Regions from separate parts of the Homo sapiens genome. Here region 1 is linked to region 2. Evidence: promoter capture Hi-C in 16 types of primary human blood cells and fetal thymus (Javierre and others, 2016). All regions are on one chromosome and are shown on one strand. Each heading gives the region's core, a stretch centred on a gene start or on the middle of the fragment in contact. The rest is flanking DNA. Distances are from core to core; before and after follow the strand shown. Region 1 overlaps CUL9 (cullin 9). Region 2 holds the start of DLK2 (delta like non-canonical Notch ligand 2).

What was found. Contacts are between HindIII fragments. The CHiCAGO score rates a contact against its expected background, and 5 or more counts as called.
Region 1: a fragment that was not itself captured here is called in contact with the fragment with the promoter of DLK2 in region 2 in 1 of 17 cell types (total B cells); the score reaches 5.3 in total B cells.

The regions. Positions count from the first base shown.
Region 1 is chr6:43,182,899-43,188,751 of GRCh38, reverse strand. CUL9 (cullin 9) reads right to left here. Exons shown (of 41, transcript NM_015089.4): 2 at 3,847-4,450; 3 at 3,142-3,296; 4 at 2,297-2,797; 5 at 1,657-1,792; 6 at 1,313-1,506; 7 at 634-1,039; 8 at 37-229. The coding sequence starts at 4,441. Among named protein-coding and RNA genes, the nearest start is that of CUL9, 3.6 kb to the right of the region's middle. RefSeq lists an enhancer at 1,173-2,372. The HindIII fragment of the contact is 4,204 bases long and covers 1-4,147 here.
Region 2 is chr6:43,451,472-43,457,449 of GRCh38, reverse strand. DLK2 (delta like non-canonical Notch ligand 2) reads left to right here and starts at 1,902. Exons shown (of 6, transcript NM_023932.4): 1 at 1,902-2,055; 2 at 2,570-2,700; 3 at 2,976-3,039; 4 at 4,315-4,445; 5 at 5,366-5,510. The coding sequence starts at 2,625. It also overlaps a transcript of ABCC10 not described here. RefSeq lists enhancers at 404-1,245, 2,874-2,923 and silencers at 1,844-2,083, 2,184-2,233, 2,264-2,343. The HindIII fragment of the contact is 6,033 bases long and covers 1-3,291 here.

The DNA of each region.
Region 1 (5,853 bases), core at 796-3,295, 270 kb after region 2:
TTCAACCAAAACCTCTTCCCTCCCCAGTATGCTAACCTCAGCGATCTGTCAGGACGGACCAGAGGGTGGTCCCGCTCAGTGACCTCCTCCACAGCCTGAGAGAGGGCAGAGAGCCCTGAAAGCTGCAGGTTTGTGTCCAAGCTGGATATCTGCACAGTGGCCACGACCGCTGCCACATGCTGATCCAGGGAGCTGCGAGGACCGGGACCCCGCAAGGCTCTGGCCATTTCTGAAATTGGTGGGAAAAGGCAATGGCTAAAAGAACTGTGGCACCTTGAAGTTAGAAGTCTTTAAAGTCAAGCCCAGTTATCCTACCAATATTTAAACACATTATCGGCTACTGCAGCTTGCAGAGTTTTCCAATTCTGTGTCAGGGATCTAATGATCAAACAAAGGAGATGAAGACACCCCAGAAAACGGATCCTCCTTTTCCAGAGATACTGAAGGAAGGGAGCGCTGGTTAATTAAATACAATCAAGGTCAAAAGGAAGAAGATGGACGCATGGTTCCAAGGCATTTTCCCCTGCAAAAATCACCTTCCTCCATGGCTTTCCTTCGATCCTGACTATCCATTTCTTCTACTGAGACTACCCAGGACTTGTTCCAATTGCTTCCTCCCAGAACCTGACTCACCACTGGCTGCCTCCTTCATCTCAGTGGGCAGGGTCATCCCCTCAGTCACCAGAAGCTGGTTAAACAGCTGAGAATCACTCTGTGCCATGGGGGTCTCGGTCCTTGTCTTGGTGGGCTCGGCCTCTGTCTTAGGGGCCTCGGCCTTTGCTTTGAGGGACTCAGTCTCTTCCTCTGAGAAGCTGGCCTCCGACTTGGACTCCTCTTCTGGATCTGGGGTACAGGAGTGATTTCGTGAAGTAGACGAGCTGCTTGGTTCATTAGACAGCAGCCCATACTTGGTGTAGATCTGGGAGTTGAGCAGGTCATTGAGAGTGCTGCCCTCAAATCGACTACTGAGAACCTGCAGCAGACTCTCGGCCATTTCCACGGACACAGAGATCTCACCTAGGGCCTTTTCACCCAGGGTCTGTCAACAGAAGGGGTATACGTTTAAGAGACAAGCAGACACAAAGGTCTTGGGGTCAGTAATGGGAAGGGTGATCACTCCCTACCATGCCCCCACACCTTCTACATACTAGACCCTCACAGCACTTGCCTCCAACCCCCAGCAGGACTCCTCCTAACTCTAATCTCTAGCTCCAGCCTCCCCCTAAGCGGTAACCCCTATCTGAAACTCCCTCTAGAGAATCCCACCTCTAACCCTACTAGAAAACCCCCAGGTATCTCAGACCTATAATACCTCATCCAGGTTCTTCCAAAGATTCTGGAAAATTGGCTGCTGCTCACACAAGTCCAACTTTTTGATAAAGAAAAGCAGCTCCCACCATTCAGCCTGGGTCAGATATCCCACTCTCTCATTCTTCTGAGGTTCGGGCTGGAGGTACGGCAAAGGGTACAGCCCATCCATAGGATTCCAGTCCCAGGAGGGAAATGCTGAGGACACAGGCATGGCGGGCATCAGCACCCCTCAGGAATGGGGTCTATTTCTGGACCCCTAGGGCTGCTCCTGGTCAGAAGTGGCTTCATCCCAGTCACTAATCCTCTGTTCAGAGACATGCTATCCATGTCCCCTCTTAGGCTCACCTGTGCCCAACACAGTAGCCCCTGCCCCCTTCTCCACAGCTGCTGAAGCCTTATCCTCAGTGGCTTCCTCAGGGCCCAGGATCTCCAGCATGTGCCAGTGCACCCAGTAAGTGCGGCCTGTCGACTGCCAGAAAACCTGGTATGAGGGAGGAAGAAAGAGAGCAGAATAGAGAAGGCTCAACCCTCTGAGCCTTGGCCTGTGAAGGCTTGAAAGGACATGCCCAAGCATAGATCTGGGGCGCACCCTCAGATACACACCTGGCTAAGCCTGGAAAAACCCCCATATGGCAAAAGGCTTCCTTCCCTTATCAGGAGTGGGCCCTGCCTCTTTTCTTAACCATGATTCTCTGCCTCGACATTCCTTCCTAGCCTCTTCCACTGGTGTTGGTGGGGAGGTATCTCCATTTATCAGTTCTGCTTCCTGGGTGAGTCTCCCATGAACTTACAGCCCACCCACACCCCTGCCAGATTTTCTCAGCCCTCCAAATGCACCCCGCACAAATGCCAACCCCCTTGTATCATTCCAATTCCCCAGGGGGGTTCTTCTTGGGTGGCCTGCAGGAGTCCTCCTTATGAAGTCCCAGCTACACCCCACCCCAAATAAACTCCCAACAGTGTCTCACCACCATGTGCTGCCCACCTGCACAGGGGGAATGCCGTTGTTGCTCTGCCGGAACTCGCCCTCGTCCCCAGCACTGATCTCCTCATAATCATCCAGCATCCGCACTCGCATCCCTGGCTGCAGTGTCTGCTGCACATATTCTCCATAGCCACTACGGCTGGAGAATTCAGAGCGCTGGCGGAAGACCCACCCTTGTCTTCTGGGGGTGGTGACAATGGTGGGGAGTAAAAGGCTGGGGCCTGAAATGTAGGGCTGAAAGATGGACCGGGTTGGCCGGGGAGGTGACATGCCCTGTTCGCTGAGGTTCCGGGCCCAGCCCATGCTCCGCACAAGCTCAGAGATGAGGTTGCCCACAGCCATGCTGAACTCCAGTTCCCGCTGTCCCCGGCTTTTCTCTCTTGTGGCACATGGGGAGCTTTGGTCTCCAGCTCCCAGCTCTGGACTGCTATTCAGCTGATCCAGGAGGGACGTGACACAAAGGTAGCGCTTCACCAAGGAGAAAAGCAGCTTTCCTGGGATCTGTAAGACACAATCCTTGGGACAGGTTCATCTCTTCCTGGCTTTAGCCTCTCCCCTTCCCTGAAGTATCCTCCTCTACAGAAAAATATAAAGGCCTTCTCCCCAGGCCTGTAGTTCTGAAACTTTGATTTGTGTAAGAAAGGCATAGGGAGTGTCTTAAAACACAGATTCCTGGGTTCTCATCTCAGAAATTCTGAATGGAGAGGGGCTGGGAGGGAGGACATGAACCTTCATGTTAACAAGTTCCCAGGTGGCTCTGGTGCTAACATTCAGTCCTGAACCACGTTTTCATAAATAATGTCTTAGCCCTTGTACACAGCATTTCCCTACAGCTGGCAGTGTACCTGAGGCAGATGAATGCCCTCAAAGGCCATGCAGTGTTCTTCAGAGGATGTGGTTTCTGCAAACAGCTCCAGCAATGTATAGCGACTGTCAAAATCCATGTGCTGCTCGATGCCATCTTGCTGGCTCAGTGATAGAAGGACGTGAGCCCGACTCCCTGTAATCCATACCCAATCCATATCTTCTCCTCAATCCCCAGTACTTTCTCCCTGCCTTTCCTAGATTCTATCTCCTACCCCAGACGCTTTCAAACTTTGTTACTAAGGCTCACAGAAAGAAATACATTTTACATGGTAACCTGTTACAAACATACATACATATAACTGAAACATATATTTTATGCTACAAAATTTACCCCTACTAAGTGCTACACACTAATGACTTAAGTTTTTAAAAAAATGTTGGTTGTAACCCACCAAATTGATTTCAAAACCAACTAATAAATCTCAATCCAGTTTCAAAAATACAGATAAGTCCTATTCTCTTCTCTGGTCAATGCACTGAGAATGAACAGATAAGCCAGAGGCTATCATTTTAGCCTCTTTATATACCTGAAATAGCCTATTAATCTATATTTTTTCCTTTGCATCAAATTGATATTCACCAAATACTAGGTGTTCTTACAGAGCTAGGAAATCTCTCCTCTTTCTTATTCCCTGTGGCCCCATTTTCTCCATTCCTTTCCTTCTTCCCTGGCTGTCTCTTACCAGCATCGTGGGCTGCCAGAGCCTGCAGCATTTTGCCTGCACTCCGGCGGATCTGAGGCTCAGGATTGCATAACATGTGCATGAGCAGGTCCAGGGCTCCTGTCTCCCTGAAGACACCAGTGAGGGGCCCGATGCTGGCGTAGGCACTGAGCACGTGGATGGTGTGAAGCACAGCGGCCGTGAGGCTTGGGGTCCCACTTTCTGCCAGCTGCCTGGCCGCCCTGCGTACCAGCGCCTGAACATCAGCCTCCATCTCTCCCATTGCCACTTCATCCAGGCCTCCTGGATCTCGAGGAAAGCTTCCTGAAACCCCAGCTGGTTCGTGCTGAAGTCCCTTAGATAGTGCCCGCTCACCTAACAGCCCAGGGCAGTTGGCGTAGACCTCAGGAGCCGACAGCCACATGAGGATGTGCTCTGCTTTGCCTTCTTCCACACCCACTTTGCCCACTTCCCCACACTTCAGGACACTCCATCGGATCAGGTATTCAGGATGCCCGTCATGCCCAGGCCTCTGTCGAATGAGTTCTTCAGGATATGCCTGCAGCCGAGGCCCTAAGGGCACCATGAGGTCCCCAGCATGCCGTTCCCCCACCATCCTGACCTCCTGGGATACACAAGGAGAAAGATAAGGCAGTATGAGAAAAGAAAAAAAATACATGGAGGGGGTGGAATCTTGAGACACAGAGAAGGTGGGTGGTGATCGGTAGGCTGCATGGTAGAATTTAGGAGGCCAAACAGAAAAGGCAAAAAATAGGATGGAATAAATAGCTGAACATACTTTGGGATTTATAACAGAAGGAGAATGGAGTGAAGACAGAGAGGGGATGAAGAAGGGGTTTAAGAAATGGAAGAGTTGGCTGCGCCCAGTGGCTCACGCCTGTAATCCCAGCACTTTAGGAGGCCAAGGTGGGCAGATCACGAGGTCAGGAATTCAAGTCCAGCCTGGTCAACATAGTGAAACCCCGTCTCTACTAAAAATACAAAAATTAGCCAGGTGTGGTGGCACATGCCCGTAGTCCCAGCTACTCAGGAGGCTGAGGCAGGAGAATCACTTGAACCCAGGAGGCGGAGGTTGCAGTGAGCCAAGACCGCGCCACTGTACTCCAGCCTGGGCAACAGAGTGAGATTCTGTCAAAAAAAAGAAAAAAAGAAAGAAAGAGAGAGAGAGGAAGGAAGGAAGGAAGGAAGGAAGGAAGGAAGAAAGGAAGGAAGGGGAGTTTACAAAAAGAGAATTAAAACAGTAATAGGCAAAGTAACAATAAACAGAGTGACAGTTAAGCAAGACAGTTTAGGCAGGATAGCAGGGTGGCTGAGGGTTACAGATTAGGACTTAGAAGAATGACATGGGTGGACAGGAAGGACAGCAGCATGTGAGGCAGTGGGATCAGAACATGTGAGGAAAAGTAGGATAGCGGAGGGGCAGGACAGGGAGCATAAATGACAGAGTAAAGCTGCAAGGTGGATGTAAAGGGTGGGCCATGGCAGATATAGAGAATGGAGATGACAAAAGGCTGGGATGTTGGGGCAAATGACTGGATAGGAAAAGTATATTCGAGTCTTGTGAAAGGGGGAGGGCCCTAGGGACCAGATAAAATTATGGGAAAGATGACCAGGTCCCACCCTGCCCTTATACTGCATGTATGGTAAGGATTTAAGTAAGTTAAGTAGATAAGATAGAGGTGGTAATCATGGGGTTAAAGGTAGGAAATGAGGTCAGGAGAGAAGCAATATTCAGAGACTTCAGTATCAGATAAATGTGACTCTGAATTCTGGCTTTCTGTCTCACTGTCTGCATAGTTTGGAACAAGTTACTTAACCTCTGAGCTTGTTTCCTCTTCTGCAAGATGGTAGTAATATTCATAGTTACTTCATGAATTTAGTAGGATCATGTATGTAAAGCACTTGGAACAGCATCTAGCACATAAAGAGTGTTCAGTAAACATAATCTGTTATTATTCTTAGATGGAGAAGGTAGGGGAGTCATCAAATAAATGCAAAGTTATTAAG
Region 2 (5,978 bases), core at 653-3,152:
TGCAGAGAGCCGAGATAGCGCCACTGCACTCCAGCTTGGGCCACAAAGCGAGACTCCGTCTCAAAAAAAAAAAAAAAAAAAAAAAAAAAAGTGTTAATGCTGAAAAGTATTAATAAGAAAAAAAAAAAAACCTCTATAATTCGATCATCCAGAGAAAAGCACTGCCAATGTCAAAGTACGTTCTTCTTTGTTTCCGGCTTCCCCCCACCGCACTTTACATATTCTTAGCTTTTTTGGACATCTTTAGACGTCAAAAAAAAAAAAAAGTATTTTTAACAGTCACATAGTGTTGATGTGCCATAATTTATTTGCCTACAGTAATTTTTGAATTATAGGTTGTTTGCAATTTTTCACCAAAAAAAAAAATGTGTTTAAACAAAATGAATGGTACAGCCATGTCATTACTCAAATTCAGAGAGCTCTTCAGGGAAGAGGCGATCACAGCTGAGAGGAGGCCAGCTAGGGAGCTGAGTGGGTGTAAGTGTTATATCCAATGGAGACTGCAGGAAAAATGAGCCCTGGGGCTCTGTGCCTGTGGAGGTGGCTGTGTGAAGGTGGGAAGCTGCTCTGCCCCGACTAGCGACTGCTCCTTCCGATGTTTTGAATTTAAAGATGGTGAAATCTCAATCTGAAGGACTAGAGATGGGCGCTAGCGTTCCTGACCTCTGCCCTGTTGTCCTGCACAAACTAGAAATTATGTTCTGGGTCCTTGTCTTTTTTTGGGGGGGGGCGGGGGTCGGAGTTTTGCTCTGTCCCCCAAGCTGGAGTGCAGTGGCGCGATCTTGGCTAACTGCAACGTCTGCCTCCCGGGTTTTCAAGCGATTTTCCTGCCTCAGCCTTCCGAGTAGCTGGGATTACAGGCGCGCACCACCACGCCTGGCTAATTTCTGTATTTTTAATAGAGACGGGTTTCACCATGTTGGCCAGGCTGGTCTCGAACTCCTGACCTCAGGTGATCCGCCCGCCTCAGCCTCCCAAAGTGCTGGAATTATAGGCGTGAGCCCACCGAGCTTGGCTGGGTCCTTGTCTTGAAATGTGTCTCTGAGCCATTAGCCAGAAGGGGGCAAAGAGGCCTGGAGGGCAGCTTTCCCCCACTCCCCCTCCGTTACTCTCTGAATCTGAGCTCCAGGTTTGGGCAGTTGAGGTTTAGCCTGAGGCCAAGGACGAACGTGATGGGGTACAGGAGAAGACTTGGCGGTGGAGGGGGTTTTGTGTGCACATTTACAGAGTCAGGGGCATTCCCAGTCCAGAAAGGATTCTCAGAGGCAGTCACAAAAAGGAATGGGGTGGAAGGGCTGAGACTTGAGGGAGGGAAGGGTGGTGGGGGTAGGGCCGGGGTGTGGTTGGGTGGATCGGGTTGATATTTATATAGGGATAGGTTGATCTTGGAAGGCTGGAGACGGCAACGTGGACAGGAAGAAGCGGAGGGCGAGGAGGAGCAGAGGAGCACACAGATGAAGCAGGTGATGAAGGCTTTACAAGCGGGGAGGCGTGGGCTGGTGACAGGCGGAGGGCGGGGAGCGATTGCCTGCGTGTGCATAGATCTATATGAGAAGCGTGATGAGCGGCGGACAAGCGAAGGCAGGGCTGGGGCGTGGGCCGCGGAGCGCTGGTCGGGAAAGTGGGCATGGGAGATGAGAGAATAACGGGGTTGCGCTCCTTTGGCTTAATAGTTTGCTCCCATTGAGACTCCTAAGATTTCCTCCTCTCTTGGAAGGAAGCTGGGTTCGGGGCGTTGGGTAGCCGCGGAGGGCCGGGGCCCCGGGGCGCGCCGGGTGCTAGGTGTGCGCCGTGCGTCGCGGGGGGGGGGATGGGGGTGGGGGCGGGCTCCGCCCCTGGCAGGGGGCCTGAGCGCGCGCGAGGAGCAGCCGCTGCCGCCGCTCGGGGTCGCCTGGAGCCCCAGATTCCCGAGCGCTCGGCTCGCATGGCAGCCGCTTCGGCGCCCGGCCCCGCGGCCAGCTAGGGGCGGCCCCGCGCTCCCTCACGGCCCCTCGGCGGCGCCCGTCGGATCCGGCCTCTCTCTGCGCCCCGGGGCGCGCCACCTCCCCGCCGGAGGTGAGGACTGCGGGGACAGGGCGCGGTGGGGATTCCAGGCCCCGCGCCGCCGCCGAACCCAGCGCGGCGGAGATAGAAAGGGGACGTGGGAGAGAGTGGTGGTGGCGGGGGGGGGGGCTGTCGGAGCTGTGGGGCGGAGACTGCTCGCTGCCGGGAACCGTCCTTCCCTCCGGCCCCCGCGTCCCCTCCGTGCTCGAGGCCGCCTCTCGGCGCTGTCCCCATCCCGCGGACCCCTCCGTCCTGACTACGATCCCAACCCCAGCCATTCCCGCGCCTGGCCTCGCTCCGCGATGCCCATCTTTCCCCTCCTTGCAGACCCCGCTCCCGGGTTCCTGTCTTCGCTCTCCTCGCTCTCTTCGCCTGCTCAACCCTTCCCTGCCCCCATCCTCCCGCTACCCCCATCCCCTTCTTCTGTCCCGGCGCCCCTCTCCCTCGTCGGCTCCTGTCACTTGGAACCCGTATCCGTGCCGCTATCTCCGCGTCCGGCCGCCTCCCAACCGGTGCCGTCCCACAGGTGTCCACGCGTCCGGCCGTCCATCCGTCCGTCCCTCCTGGGGCCGGCGCTGACCATGCCCAGCGGCTGCCGCTGCCTGCATCTCGTGTGCCTGTTGTGCATTCTGGGGGCTCCCGGTCAGCCTGTCCGAGGTGAGCGCGCCCGCTGGGCTCCAGTCGCGGCCCTGTCCAGCCGTCCTCGCTTGCACGTTGACCTCTGCCGGCCGGAGGCGGCACTGCAGTCGCTCCGACCCGCGGGGCAAGCAAGACCGAGGTTGCCTTTTTGGAATGGGATGAGTTTCTGTGTTATGTCCTGCCCTAGGGTTGAGTCCGCTCAGTTACTGGAACCCCAATCCTCTCCTGAGTCCCGCATCCCAGCGAGCTGTGCCCTGACTCAGACTCACCCCTCCCACATCAATCTCTTGCAGCCGATGACTGCAGCTCCCACTGTGACCTGGCCCACGGCTGCTGTGCACCTGACGGCTCCTGCAGGTACCTGTCCTGAGCACGTGCCCCCAAACCCTTTGGTACCCATTTCTAAGCCCTTCACGTGCACAACAGTGTCTAGGGGCTTCAGACTCTACTCTTCATGCCTCATCACTCCTATGGCTGACTGGCCAGTCCCCCTTTCCCCTTTACCTCACCTCTCTTGCTTCTTCTAGTTTTTATCTCCCCACTTCTTTAATCTCCCAAGTCTGATCCAGGGATTGTCTGAACTCCTGACAGGGAGAGAGACCTAAAGCTTGAGAGAGCTTGGGGATTGGGTGCCATGAGGAAATGGAAAGATAAAGGAAAAAGGGAAAGAGAAATGGTTTAGCCTGGAAAAGAAATGCTGCAGGGAGAGTTGCTGGGGAGAAACACTTACAATGAAAGAGGATCTTTCTTGATGAGTTTGAGTAGTTGACTCACTGGGAGATTGGGCAAATTCTGTAGCAGGAGGAAAGTGGACATAAGGAAATGAGTTGATGAGGCAGGTAGTTCAATTGGCTGGGGGTCTTTGAGACTCTTCACCCCTGGAGGGCTTTTAAAATATGGGTCAAGTGTTTGCCCTGGAATCATGGTGGGAGGATAGTCCTGATGACCTTTTTTGTTTTTATTTTTATTTTTTGTTTTTGAGACAGAGTCTCGCTTTGTTGCCAAGGCTGGAGTGCAGTGGCGCGATCTCAGCTCACTGCAGCCTCTGCCTCTTGTGTTCAAGTTCCCCTGCCTCAGCCTCCTCAATAATGGATTACAGATGCACACCACCATGCCCGGGTAATTTTTTGTATTTTTTGTAGAGACGGGGTTTCACCCAGTTGGCCAGGCTGGTCTTGAACTCCTGACCTCAAGTGATCCACCTGCCTCGACCTCCCAAAGTGCTGGGATTACAGGCGTGAGCAACCACGCCCCGGCCCTGATGGCCTTTCAAGGTCATTCTTCTTTAAATGTTTGTGAGCACCTCAGACATGCCAGGAGGGGTACTGGAGGCATTTACAGACATCTTATTTCTTCCTCTACTCAACCCTGCAAGGTGTATCCCCAATTTACAGGTGAGAAAACTGAGGCTCAGGTTAAAGTACAGAACCAGGGTTTGAGTGCTGGTGTCTGATGGTCTGATTCCGTATATGTGTCCTATGACCCTGCACAGTCCTACACCTACCTGGGACAGGTCTGCTTTCCCTTAGGGGCTGTCATATGTCCTCTTGGTTTCTAGAAGCTCTGGTTCTGTCTCCTCCATTTCTTCACATCCATGACCCAGAGCCCTGACCCTGTGCTTCTCCCCGTCAGGTGTGACCCGGGCTGGGAGGGGCTGCACTGTGAGCGCTGTGTGAGGATGCCTGGCTGCCAGCACGGTACCTGCCACCAGCCATGGCAGTGCATCTGCCACAGTGGCTGGGCAGGCAAGTTCTGTGACAAAGGTAGGGGGGAGGAAGGGTAGCTTTTGGTTGGGAACCCCATGTTCTTAGGGGAACAGCCATCAGTATTTATTGAGTGCCTATTTTGTCCTTGTCAAACCCTCAAATACATGGTATTTTATCATTTTTTTAAATCTTAGACTTTTTATATGTTGTCTGAATTGATCCTCAACATAACCCCATGGGGCAGGAAACACAGCTGCTAAAAATTGTACTCATTTTACAGATGAGGAAACTAAGGCCCACAGAAGAGCTATAACCTGCTCAAAGTCAGGTTTTTTTGTTTGTTTTGTTTTGAGATGGAGTCTCACTCTGTCACCCAGGCTGGAGTGCAGTGGTGCGATCTCGGCTCACTGTAACCTCCGCCTCCTGGGTTCAAGTGATTCTCGTGCCTCAGCCTCCCCAGTAGCTGGAATTACAGGCACCCGCCACTTCAGCTAATTTTTGTATTTTTAGTAGAGATAGGGTTTCACCATGTTGGCCAGGCTGGTCTCGAACTCCTGACCTCAAGTGATCCACCCGCCTTGGCCTCCCAAAGTGCTGGAATTATAGGCATGAGCCACTGTACCGGCCTAATGTTTGTATTTTTAGTAGAGATGGGGTTTTGCCATGTTGGCCAGGCTGGTCTTGAACTCCTGACCTCAAGTCATCTGCCCACCTTGGTCTTCCAAAGTGCTGGGATTACAGGCATGAGCCACAGTACCCAGCCCAAGGTCAGTTTGAGACAGACTGAGAGCCAGGGCCAGGAGCCTCCTGACTCCAAATTCAGTGTTGTTGTCTCTCCCTAGCATACCACGCCAGCCTGGGCTGGGTTTGTAGTATAGCCACACCTACAGAACCTGGGGCCTGGAAGGCGTGGACAAGTCTGGTCTGGGGACCAGATGGGAGGGGTTATCCCAGAGCCTTTCCTGTCCCCTCTCCAGATGAACATATCTGTACCACGCAGTCCCCCTGCCAGAATGGAGGCCAGTGCATGTATGACGGGGGCGGTGAGTACCATTGTGTGTGCTTACCAGGCTTCCATGGGCGTGACTGCGAGCGCAAGGCTGGACCCTGTGAACAGGCAGGGTGAGTGCTGGGCCCTCAGGGTGAGTGGAAGGTTAGACCAGAACCTGGTGATGGGATGAGAAAAGAGGCAGGACTGTTGGGAGGGTGGGGGACTGAGAGTCAGACCCACACGGGGACACTCAGATAAAACCCCTGCATGCCAAAGTGTTCCTAGTTCAGGGTTTCTCAACTTTTTTTTTTGTACCTTCTGAGCCATTTCTTCAACAATCTATAGGAGCTAGAGGGGTAACAAACGTGTGACTGTTCTGGTTGGGGAGGGTGGGTGTGGGGAGACTGAAGGGCCTGGGTCTCTCCTCATCCTCTCCTGAACGCTGGCTTGCACCCTTCTGTGTCACAGTAGGGATGAGGAAACAGCCTGCAGGGCTGGACTTGTCCTCATTTCTGCATCAGGCCCAGGAGCCTGTGAGGATAATAATAGCACACTTACCCTGAGCCCTGCCTTCTGGCTGGGCCCTGTGCTAATGGCTT